Regions from separate parts of the Homo sapiens genome. Here region 1 is linked to region 2. Evidence: promoter capture Hi-C in human tissues and cell types (Jung and others, 2019). All regions are on one chromosome and are shown on one strand. The core of a region is centred on a gene start or on the middle of the fragment in contact, and the rest is flanking DNA. Distances in the headings are between cores, read along the strand shown.

Evidence for each region. Contacts are between HindIII fragments. The study calls those that stand out against the background at their distance.
Region 1: a contact is called between the fragment with the promoter of ZNF830 here and the fragment with the promoter of TMEM132E in region 2, in 3 of the 25 tissues and cell types used here (bladder, mesendoderm cells and thymus).

The regions. Positions count from the first base shown.
Region 1 is chr17:34,957,853-34,963,268 of GRCh38, forward strand. It overlaps ZNF830 (zinc finger protein 830), which reads left to right and starts at 3,688. Exons shown (of 1, transcript NM_052857.4): 1 at 3,688-5,416. The coding sequence starts at 3,715. The coding sequence ends at 4,833. CCT6B (chaperonin containing TCP1 subunit 6B) reads right to left here and starts at 3,608. Exons shown (of 14, transcript NM_006584.4): 1 at 3,405-3,608; 2 at 1,735-1,798; 3 at 708-842. The coding sequence starts at 3,541. RefSeq lists a silencer at 3,138-3,432 and enhancers at 3,152-3,201, 3,302-3,521, 3,572-3,651, 3,732-3,981. The HindIII fragment of the contact is 13,629 bases long and covers 1-5,416 here.
Region 2 is chr17:34,578,026-34,583,329 of GRCh38, forward strand. It overlaps TMEM132E (transmembrane protein 132E), which reads left to right and starts at 1,557. Exons shown (of 9, transcript NM_001304438.2): 1 at 1,557-3,118. The coding sequence starts at 3,052. TMEM132E-DT (TMEM132E divergent transcript) reads right to left here and starts at 1,344. Exons shown (of 2, transcript NR_160787.1): 1 at 846-1,344. RefSeq lists enhancers at 509-1,045, 1,046-1,581. The HindIII fragment of the contact is 28,166 bases long and covers 1-5,304 here.

The DNA.
Region 1 (5,416 bases), core at 2,438-4,937, 380 kb after region 2:
GAAGTAGATGATTTATAAAGAAAATGAAACTAGAAAGGAAGGTAAATTCACAATAAGTAAAACCTTCAATAATTTTTCTCCAGTGGTTTTATAAAGGTGCATAATTTGGTTTCAACTTTATCTATGGTGTTTTCTTTCTTAATTACCCATGGATACATGGGTAATTTTTTACTTTTTTAGGTCCGTTAAATATTTCATTTTTAAAAGAGGTATATAATTCCAACGAAAGGCATTATTTTGGCCAACAAAGTTCATTATTATTTCCATTTATAATTGTCCAAGAATATCTTAATTAAAATTAACTGTCTAGACCAGGCACGGTGGCTCATGCCTGTAATCCCAGCACTCTGGGAGGCCCAGGCAGGTGGATCACCTGAGGTCAGGAGCTCAAGACCAGGCTGGCCATGATGGTGAAACCCTGTCTCTAAAAAAAATACAAACATTAGCCAGGCATGATGGCGCATGCCTGTAATCCCAGCTACTCGGGAAGCTGAAGCAGGAGAATTGATTGAACCTGGGAGGCGGAGGTTGCAGTGAGCCAAGATTCTGCCACTGCACTCCAGCCTGGGCGACACAGTGAGACTCCATCTCAAAATTAATTAATTAATTAATTAAAACAAAATTAACTGTCTAAAACTCAACCATTTTACTAGTTAAAAAAATAATTTGCCATTCAAAATAACATATAAACTGTGAAATTCTAATACCTCAGAAATGTACAGGTCAGCTTGTTTTAATAACTCTCCAATAATTAGAACATTTGAAGTAGTACCATCTCCTGTGACGTCATCCTGAGCTGTTGCTACTTTTGCTATCAAGGAAGCTGTTGGATGTTGAATTTGCTGGAAAAAGCAAGCAACAGATTTAAAAAGACAGGATGAGATAAGGAAGTAGGTCACCAAAAGCAAGATAACCTAGGGGTCAGTAGCAAAATTAAAAAATGAAATAAGCTTCATTCTACAAGTTTACAAGTTTTGTATTATCAATACCTAAATGTCAAGTCCAAAATTTTAAAAGTGACAGGTAATGAGGCCTGAACATTTCATAAAAGTCTTTGCTTCAGAATGCAATGACATTTCTAAAATAAGATTAAATCATTCAATCTCAAAATGAATACATGTATTAAACTTGCAAAGGATATTTTTATTTTTCCATAATTACAAAGAACATAAGGCAGTGCCCTTAAAAGATATTATTGATTTATAAGTATGCCTAAGTATACAAAGTATGTATAAGTATACAAAGACTTGGAAACAGCCAAAAAAAAAAACTTTTTTTTTTTTTTTTTTTGAGACAGGGTTTCACTCTGCCACTCAGGCTGGAGTGCAATGGCACAATCTCATTCACTGCAGCCTTGGCCTCCTGGGCTCAAGTGATCCTCTCACCTCAGCCTCCAGAGTAGCTGGGACTATAGGCGTATGTCACCACACTGAGCAAAATTTTTTTTTTTTTTTTTTTTTGTAGAGACGGTTTTCACCATGTTGCCCAGCCTGGTCTTGAACTCCTGGGCTCAAGCAATTTGGCCACCTCAGCCTCCCAAAGTGTTGGGATTACAGGAGTGAGCTACCACACCCGGCCAAAAAAATTTTTTTATTGAGGTCTAATTCAACAGTCTTCAGCATATCTCAAGACTGCAGTATTTAGCTCACAGCCTTGGCTTAAAGATACACAAGTTCTACTATGCTTCTAATTAAGGCTTATTAAGGTTTATTAAAGTCAGCAGCATCAGCTCACCATCTCATCGAGCAGCACATTGCCATCTTTGGTGAGTTTGATGTCACCTGCACCAGAAACAAGCCTGTTCAGAGAAGAATGATATTAACTTCATGTGGTAGGAAGACATTCCCAGTGCTTGCCACTCCATTATCCTTAATAGAGGGAACTGGGCTCGGAAAACTTCCACTGTACCATGGGAATATGCCATGGTAATTACCACCATTTGCAGCTCACAGAATCATTTCTCCCCAGATGGACAGATTATGGAGATTTCATTCCAAATGGACTATTTACAGGTTTAAAGATAAAAGCACTTGATGAGTTACGAACTGTGGTTTGGTCAAAGAATACTTGGAAGTCTACAAAGCACAAATTCGCAAATTTCCTGCAGGTTTTAATTTTGGTGAATGTTTTCATTCATTCAGTCACTCAACTTAGTTTCCCTCATCCCTGCATTTATTAGATCACCAAGTTCTATCAATTCTACTACCTAAATATCTCTTGAATCTGCCACCTTCTCTCCATCTCCACTGTTATCATCTCTACTTTGGATGGCATCCGGATATCTCCAAACTTAAATATACCCTCCACACATTTTTCTTTCTAAAAGGCAACGTGATTCAGTCAGTTCCCTGATCAAAAGTCCTCCAATGATTTTTATGTTTTCCATCATTTTCAAGTTAAAATCCAAACACAGCAATGACATACTTGACCTTTCCCAATATCTTCCCTGCCTCATCTACTTTTCCACAAGCAAATCTTCTGGTTCCCTTAATATACCATGTTTTGTTTCGTTTCTGTTGGATTTGCACCATTGGTCTTTCTTATTCCTGAAATTACTTTGCCCAGGCCTTTACTCCCTCTTCCAACTAGTGAAGTCTTATTCTTCTTTCAAGACTGATCAAACATGTTACTTAAGATGCTTTTCCTTCTGCCATCAGTCCCTTTCTTCAGCATAATTATATGCATCTATATATAATTAGCACATCCTACTCTACCACATCCGTCTCTACCACATCTCCTTAAGAACAGAAACCGTTATCTTGATCATTTCTGTGTCCCAACAACTGGTACCTAAGTGACTTATTTTACCATTAATATTATTTTGTTCATTACTATGAGGATGTGTCTCTCCTCTTATACCCTTTTGCCCTCACTGGTCTCTTTTCCTCACTCTTGTCTATAGAAAAGGGTGCTTAATATATACTGAAAAGATGAATAGATCTGAACAACCATAGACACGGGGTATTCAAGTAGAACTTGGATTTGACCCCATGCCTTCCTGGCTCCAAAGCCTGTGTCCTCTCCACTACAATACATTGCCATACAAAAAACAAAACTACTTGTTGAATTTATGGACCAAGGGTATACAGTCTTAAGGAGCAGAGGAGTTAAATGCTTTGTTTCCAATGAGACACTAAATTAACTGACTTTCTAACTGCATATGAACCTTGACGACAAGTCGGGGGTCGGGGAAGCGCCACAGCTTCACTCCCGGGGCCCTCTACTAGGGGAGGCTTTTCTCCTCCACCTGCACCAGGCGAGAAATACCCCCAGAGCAGGGATGAGAATGAGGGAAATCAAGCTCGCAAGAACATCCACAGCGCTACGCGGACGCCTGCCTCAGAGGGCGACAGGACACCAACGGGCCCCTAGCCGCGTAATGGCCGCTCCAACCGCTGTCTCACATTTTCATGGTGCCTTTAGGACCCAAGTTGGTCCGCAGCACATCCTGCAGCCCTCGGGCGGCGCATATATTGACAGCCAAAGCTGCCCGGGCCCGCGCCACCTCAGCCTTGGAGTTGACGGCCTTTATCGCAGCCATAGCCTAACCGTTCAGAGGGAGAAAAAAAAAAAGCCTTAGTCGCGATTCTGAGCAAAAACGGCAATGCGACGCCACGCTCTCTTGAGCCTCGGCCAATCATCGCCCTTACAGGAAGTGACGTTATCATGCCTCGCCCGACGGAAACCAGAATCGTTTTGGGTCTGGTCGCCAAGATGGCGTCCTCCGCCTCCGCCCGGACTCCGGCAGGGAAGCGAGTGATAAATCAGGAAGAATTGCGGCGGTTAATGAAGGAGAAGCAGCGTCTGAGCACCAGTCGGAAACGGATAGAATCTCCATTCGCGAAGTACAACCGTTTGGGGCAGCTGAGTTGTGCCCTGTGTAACACTCCGGTTAAGAGCGAGCTCCTGTGGCAGACTCACGTCCTGGGAAAGCAGCACCGAGAGAAAGTGGCCGAGCTGAAAGGCGCGAAGGAAGCCAGCCAGGGTTCGTCCGCCAGTTCAGCGCCTCATTCCGTCAAGAGGAAAGCGCCGGACGCAGACGACCAAGATGTCAAGAGAGCGAAGGCCACCTTGGTGCCTCAGGTACAGCCCTCCACATCTGCGTGGACCACCAACTTTGACAAAATAGGAAAGGAGTTCATTAGAGCGACTCCCAGTAAGCCTTCAGGACTCAGTTTACTCCCCGATTATGAAGATGAGGAGGAGGAGGAAGAGGAGGAGGAAGGAGATGGAGAAAGAAAAAGGGGGGACGCCAGCAAGCCGCTCTCCGACGCACAGGGCAAGGAGCACTCAGTTTCCTCTTCACGGGAGGTAACAAGTAGTGTGCTGCCAAACGATTTCTTTAGTACTAATCCTCCCAAGGCCCCCATAATTCCTCATTCAGGGTCAATTGAGAAAGCAGAAATACATGAAAAAGTGGTGGAAAGGAGAGAAAACACCGCGGAAGCGTTACCGGAAGGTTTTTTTGACGACCCTGAGGTAGATGCAAGAGTACGAAAGGTTGATGCTCCAAAAGATCAGATGGACAAAGAGTGGGACGAATTCCAAAAAGCCATGAGGCAGGTCAACACTATTTCCGAAGCCATAGTTGCCGAAGAGGATGAGGAGGGACGGTTGGACCGCCAGATTGGGGAGATCGATGAGCAGATAGAGTGTTACCGACGGGTGGAAAAGCTACGGAATCGCCAGGATGAAATAAAAAATAAACTTAAAGAAATCCTGACCATAAAAGAACTGCAGAAAAAGGAAGAAGAGAATGCTGACAGCGATGATGAGGGGGAACTACAGGATTTGTTGTCTCAGGATTGGAGGGTGAAAGGGGCATTGTTATAGGGTTTTAAAGACCCAAGGTTTCTAACAGCCTCTGCTGTTGTATAAAAAGTGCTGTCTCTCAGTAGTATAGCGGTTACTTCATGCCTCAAGATTTGGGTACCTGGATTGCTAAACTGGATTGTTGAGATAAAATGAGCCAGTGAGCTACAGCACTTTGGAAAATTTGTGTAACATGTTTTTGAGGTAAAGTTGTTTTTGAAATTTCTGAAGTGTTATATACCAAAATGCCAACATTTCCACGACAGACTTAACTGTATAATTTCGTTGTAAAATCTGTAAGTTGTAAATATTGTACATAGTTAAATCTGTATTCTGTTTTGAATTTTTTTAATTAATAGAAAGACCAACCGGCAAACTTTCAGATGAATGCTTACTGTGGTATTTGGAATGTATGTATCTTCTGAACCCTACATCAAGTTGAAAAGGTTTGTTTTCTTGTTTCTTTGGTTTTTGTATGGTTTTTTAGAACACTTCATAAACACATAAGTCATTGTAGGTTAATCAGTTCTCTTAGTGTGCTTTATTTTAAAAACATAAGAAAACTATATGCCAAACATGACCAAACCAATGATGGTCAGATGTG
Region 2 (5,304 bases), core at 307-2,806:
AGGTGGATCTTTCCCCCTTTCTCCCCCACACAGAGCCTGATTGCTAGCTTGCTTCTCAGGGGGTTGGTGAATAAGCCCTTGGGTGACATTAATTGCCATCAGGCATTAGGGGCCTAATGAGAATAATCTTCTTTGACGACTCCAGCACCTTCTATCCCCAGGGCCTCCAAGAGCTGGCCAGCTCTCCTCAGGCTGCACCTCCCCCCAGCTCCAGACAGATGTAGGGGTGGGGGAAGGGCCAGAGCAGCCCTCTACAGGCCCCAGTACCAAGCGAGGCAGCAACAGCCAGCAGCCAGGGAGGAGGAAGCCTTCCATGAAAAATGCAAGCACATTTTCCAAAAACAAAATGTCACCGTCCTAGATGAAAGGAAACTCTCAGGGTCAAGAGGGCTAGCATGGAGTCAGGCAGATGGAGGGCACGGTTTGAGTGCCCCAGCTGGCTTTGCTCTGACCTGGCCCCACACTCTCACTCCAGTTGAGTGCAGAGGTATGGAAGGGTGACCCTCAAGATCCATATCCTCCCCAGTAGGGATATGTCCATGGGATTGAAGACCCTGTCCCTCCAGAGCAGGGTAGGATTGAAATTCACCCTCTGGGGATTGGAGTTGATACCCAACGAAGCTATAAAATCATTGCCATGGATCCGATGCCTGGTTGACAGATGAGGTGTGAAGGTTGACTTGCCGGGTCTGATCTAGGTTGCACTCTAATGGAAAGGGCCTGATGGTGGGAACAGATATCACTCCAGCCACCCCTCCCGCTAGTCAGCAGGTGCCTGGGTGAGTATGCAAGAGGGGCAGTTCCCCACCCCCACCTCATGCCTCTTTAAAGGCTTGCTAAACAACCTGTAGGAAAGCACTGTCCCCTCCTCTTCTCCGTCTTCCTTCCCCAGCAACAGAATAAATAGGTTTCCCACAGCTGCGCCCCGGACCCATCCCGCACGAAGCTGAGCCCCAGAGCCCCCGCGGCCCGAGAGGAGCTGGGCACAGCAGCGAGGCTGATTCCCAGCCAGTGCCCAGCGAACTCTGGGGGTGGGGGTAGGGTGCCCCCTACCCGCGCCTCTGGAAGAGCGGCTGCAAAACACCTCCGGCGCCCGGTGGGGAGCGTGCATCCTTTGAAAAGGGACATCAGTGACTGCGGTGGCGTCTACCCTGGAGAAACGCAGCTGAGGGAGGTGGAGGCTCCTCCCGCCGCAGCTGGCCGGCCCCATTCGGGTCCCAGCGCTAGCCGGCGTTGGGAAGGAAAAATCAAACATAAAATAGGGGCGAGCGGAATCGCGAGGTCGGCCCTTGGCCCGAGTCTCATTAAGGAGCCGCGCGCGCCGCCAGGCTAGGAATGCGGAATGGACACGTGGACAGAGGAGGGGGAGCTAGGAGTCGGGGAGTCTCCGTGGCGCGCGAGCTGTGGGCCGCGCGCTCGGGGGCCACGTGACCACGGGGAATCTGGGAGGGGTGGGAGTGAGCGCGCCAAGCTCGGCGCCCGCTTCTGCCCGGGTGGGCGCTGAATCCCGGACGGAGGAGGAGGGCGGGCGAGCGCGAGTGTGTGTGTCTCTCTCGAGTCATTTACGGCGGAGCAGCCGGCGCGAGCGCCGAGGAGGCGGCGACGGCGGCGGCGGCTGCTTCGTGCAACTGTGGCTTCCCCCACCTCCTCTTCCTTTTTGCTCCTCGATTCTTCTTCTTCCCCCACACACGTCCATGGGGAGCCGGCTCCCCTGCCAGCACCTCCTCTCCTCTCGGCCCCGTAGGCACCAGCTGCCGCTTCCCTGGCCGCAAGCTGCGCAGGTGCCGGCTGCCCTGGCCCCTGGCGCCGCGCCCGCGTCTCACCGCCCGCAGCCCGGACTGGCGCGGCGATCCGCTCGCCCAAACTGACTCGGAGGGAGCGGGAGCCGATGCCCGGCAGCATCGAGACAGCGGGCGAACGGGCGTCCGGGGACAGGGTGGGGGCGGCGGGGAGGAGGCGTCGGAGACTCTGAACCCCAGAAAAGTTCAAGGTTTGTGCAGGTTCCCCCAGGGAAGGCGAGGAGCGAGGCGGGGCAGCGCGCCTCTCTGCCGAGACAGCGAGACCTTAGCGGGGTGGCCCGGAGCTGCCGTGAGCTGCAGGAGCCCCTCTGCATCTTACAGCGTTTATGGTCATCAAGCTGGAGTCGACGTCCTGGGCAGGAAGGGCTCGGGGCAGGGCGCATTAGCCGGCTTTCTCGCTCCCTCGCTTCTCCAAGCCCCATCTACATGGGGCAGCCCGTTCTGGCCGCGCCACCCTTGCCCCAGCCGCCGAGCGGCTGCCTGGGCAGGAGGCGCTGAGCCGGCCTGTGTGGAGCCTGGGCCCTGATCCAGACTGGAGAAAGCGCGCTGGAGCGGAGGAGCGAGCCTTGCGAGGGGACAAACATCTGGCCGCCCGCCTCGGGCATCCGGTCTGGGCGTCGCCTAGGGTGGTGGCGACCGGCGTCGCCAGTTTCAGCACCGCACGGAAACTTTTCCTTCTCCAGATGGATTAAAGTTGTCTGGATTTTCTCTTTCTTTGAGAAAGACAGCATTCATTTGCACCTGACCTGGGATTTTTATGCTGGGCTGCTGCAGGGGCTTGGAGGAAGAAAGCGGCGCTATCCATGTGCGGTTACTACCGAAACCGAGGAAACTGGGGATTGCGTTGGAAGTCGGCACCCTCGAGTGAGTTCGGATTCGAGCTGGGCCGTGAGGCCGGGAGATTCAGCACTGGGCTCTAGGTAGCCCCCGGGACGCCCGCGGCCACCGGGCTCCGGACTGCACGTGCAGCTCCCCCCGCGCCTCGCAGATCCTGCAGGGGGCACCAGCTGGGGGAGGTGGAGGCTCCTCCCGCCCGGAGCTGCGCCCCCACCGGCTCCGAGGGTGTAGCCGCCAGCGCCTGGGACGCCCCCTCCCCGCAAAGTGTCCCCGAATTGCACTCTCTGGTCCCGGAGCTGCATCTGAGACAGCCGGGCGCCACGGCAGCCCTGAGTTGGATGTGACCAAGCCCAGCCTGGGGCCAAGTCGTCGTCGACTGTTGCTCTCTCGGACCCCTCCCGCCCCCGCCTCGGCCATGGCCCCGGGGATGTCGGGCCGCGGCGGCGCCGCCCTGCTCTGCCTCTCAGCGCTACTCGCCCACGGTAAGTGTCGCGGCGCGGACTGGGGGTGAGGATGCGGCAGGCGCCACTGGAGGGGGTACGGGGAAGACTGGGGAGAGGAGCACCCACACCCCCTGGACTCGCAGCCGCCACTCCGGGTTTGGCGTCTCTGGCTGCAGCTCGAGTTACCGCCAGCCCCCGAGCCCTCCGGCGAGCTCAGCTGAGGGGACCGAGCCCGGCGCCAGAAAAGGGTGGGGGGAGGGTGTCGCTCCAGTCCTCTCCTGGTTATAAAGAAGGGTTCGAACCCGAAGGTCTGGGGTCGTGTCCGCCCACGGAAATCTAGAGGGATCCGAGGGATCCTCCGGATCGCGTCCAGGCCGCCCCCCGCCCCCGTCTCTCCCTGCAGCCGGCCGGGCTGGGGGCTGTTGGGATCCGCCGGGATCGCGTCTTTCCTCGCCCCGGGCGCGCAGGCCGGTGCGGGGCCGCGCCGCCCGTCGCCTCGCTTCCTGCGGCGGTCCTCGGGAAGGGAAGTGGACTGACTCCGGGCCGGGGAGCCGCCGCGGCTCGCACGCCCGCGGTCCTGTGAGCTGCATCTAAATGGCCGGCTTAGGCGAGCCCGGAGGGCGGGGGTCTGGGCACCCGCACAGGCCGGGGCGGTGGGCCGCGGGCCGCGCGCGGAGGGAGCGGGCTCCGCGCTCTCGCATTCTGCAATCTGTTGCGTCTGCTCCCCAGGCTCGCCCCGGGCTCCGCGGTAAAGGGGGTGGGAGAAGGAGGGATTGAGGTTGGCGCGCTTTGGCGGTGGGACAGCGGGCATACGGGTGGGGGGCAGCGGGTTTTTGAACAGCCCCCAAGAATGGGAAATCAGACCAGAGGGAAGGAGGCTGCAGCGGGCCTTCCGCAAGCTGGAGACGCTCCAGGAGGCGAGGGGAGCAGACCGAGGTGGGAGGGAGAGAGCTCCGAAAGGAGAGTGGAGAAGCGGGGCCCTCTGCTCCCTCCTAACGTGAAACCAGCCGACCTGGGATACATTTTCTTAACCAGCAAGGCGTGGCGGGGTTGGGGGGCGGGGGTGTTTCGATGCTCCACGCTGAGGGGTGAGCCTCAGGCAGAATGGAGGGCGCTTAGATGGAGGGGGCAGTGGGCTCTCCGCATTGGTGGAGCGCCCTCGGTGTGCCGGGCTCAGCTCTTGCCCAGATCTGCCCAGTCCCTAAGAGCCTGCTCAAGCTCGCCAGGAGTGTGCCCAAGGTCTCTAACCAGCGGCCTCTTTCACCCTGACCAAAGCGCATTCTCAAGGTTGAGAGAATAAGAAAAAGAGGGGCTCTCGGAATCGTAGGGTCCTGGGGCTAGGAGGGGGGCGGGGAGCAGGCAGACCTCCCTCTATGGGTGGCTTGGTTATTCCCGGCTGAGGTAACACCAGGGGGGGTTGTTTTGCGTTCAGTTCACCAGAGACAGCTAACCTCAGTTCTCTATGGGAGGAATAGGCAGAGCAGCGAGCCAGCAGGGGGGCGAGGGTGAGGTGGGGCGAAGTGGGAGCATAGCGGGGAACCAGAAATCTCTAGGCTCTGTGTGCAACACTGAGAATGAAGGTGGGGGAGAGGGAGGTGGGCTGCCTGTCTGCGCACTGGAGCTGCATGGGCTGCACTTGTGACCTAGCACTGGCCGGCAGGGAGTTTCCCTGCCCAGTAGGAGGAAGCCCAGAAACCCAGGCCTGAGTCTAGGTGGGTTCTTCCCCTCTTCTTACATCTTGCTGTCGGAGTTCCCTTCCCAAAGCCCAACCATGGCGTCACCTCAAACGCTGATGATGGGCAGCTCAAACTCTGTCATTAGGGTCCCTCTGCCCACCTTCCCGATCCCTGAGCCTGGAATTAAAGATCCCTTTCCCTTCCTCACCTGCCAGAATCCTGCCTGTTCCTAAGACGCAGTTCCAGCTGGGCCTTAGCGTCCTGGCTGCCTTCCCTTGGTCTTGGCCTTGGCCTCCTTTTTTCCTTAGGCACCAGTGCCCTCTCTGTGCCCCAGTAGTCCTGGATTGGTGGAGGCAGAGCCATGGGCTTATTCCCTGTCTCTCCACACAGCCAGTGCCTAACACAGTGACAGCACACCTAGGGCAGAGGGCTTGGCTGCCTGAGCAGAAAGAAGGTATTTGAGGAGGTAGGGTCTGAATCGCCCTACTGAGCGGACATTTCCCCTCCTGACTATCTGGCTTCCTTTCCAACCTCCTTCCCTGAGTCCTG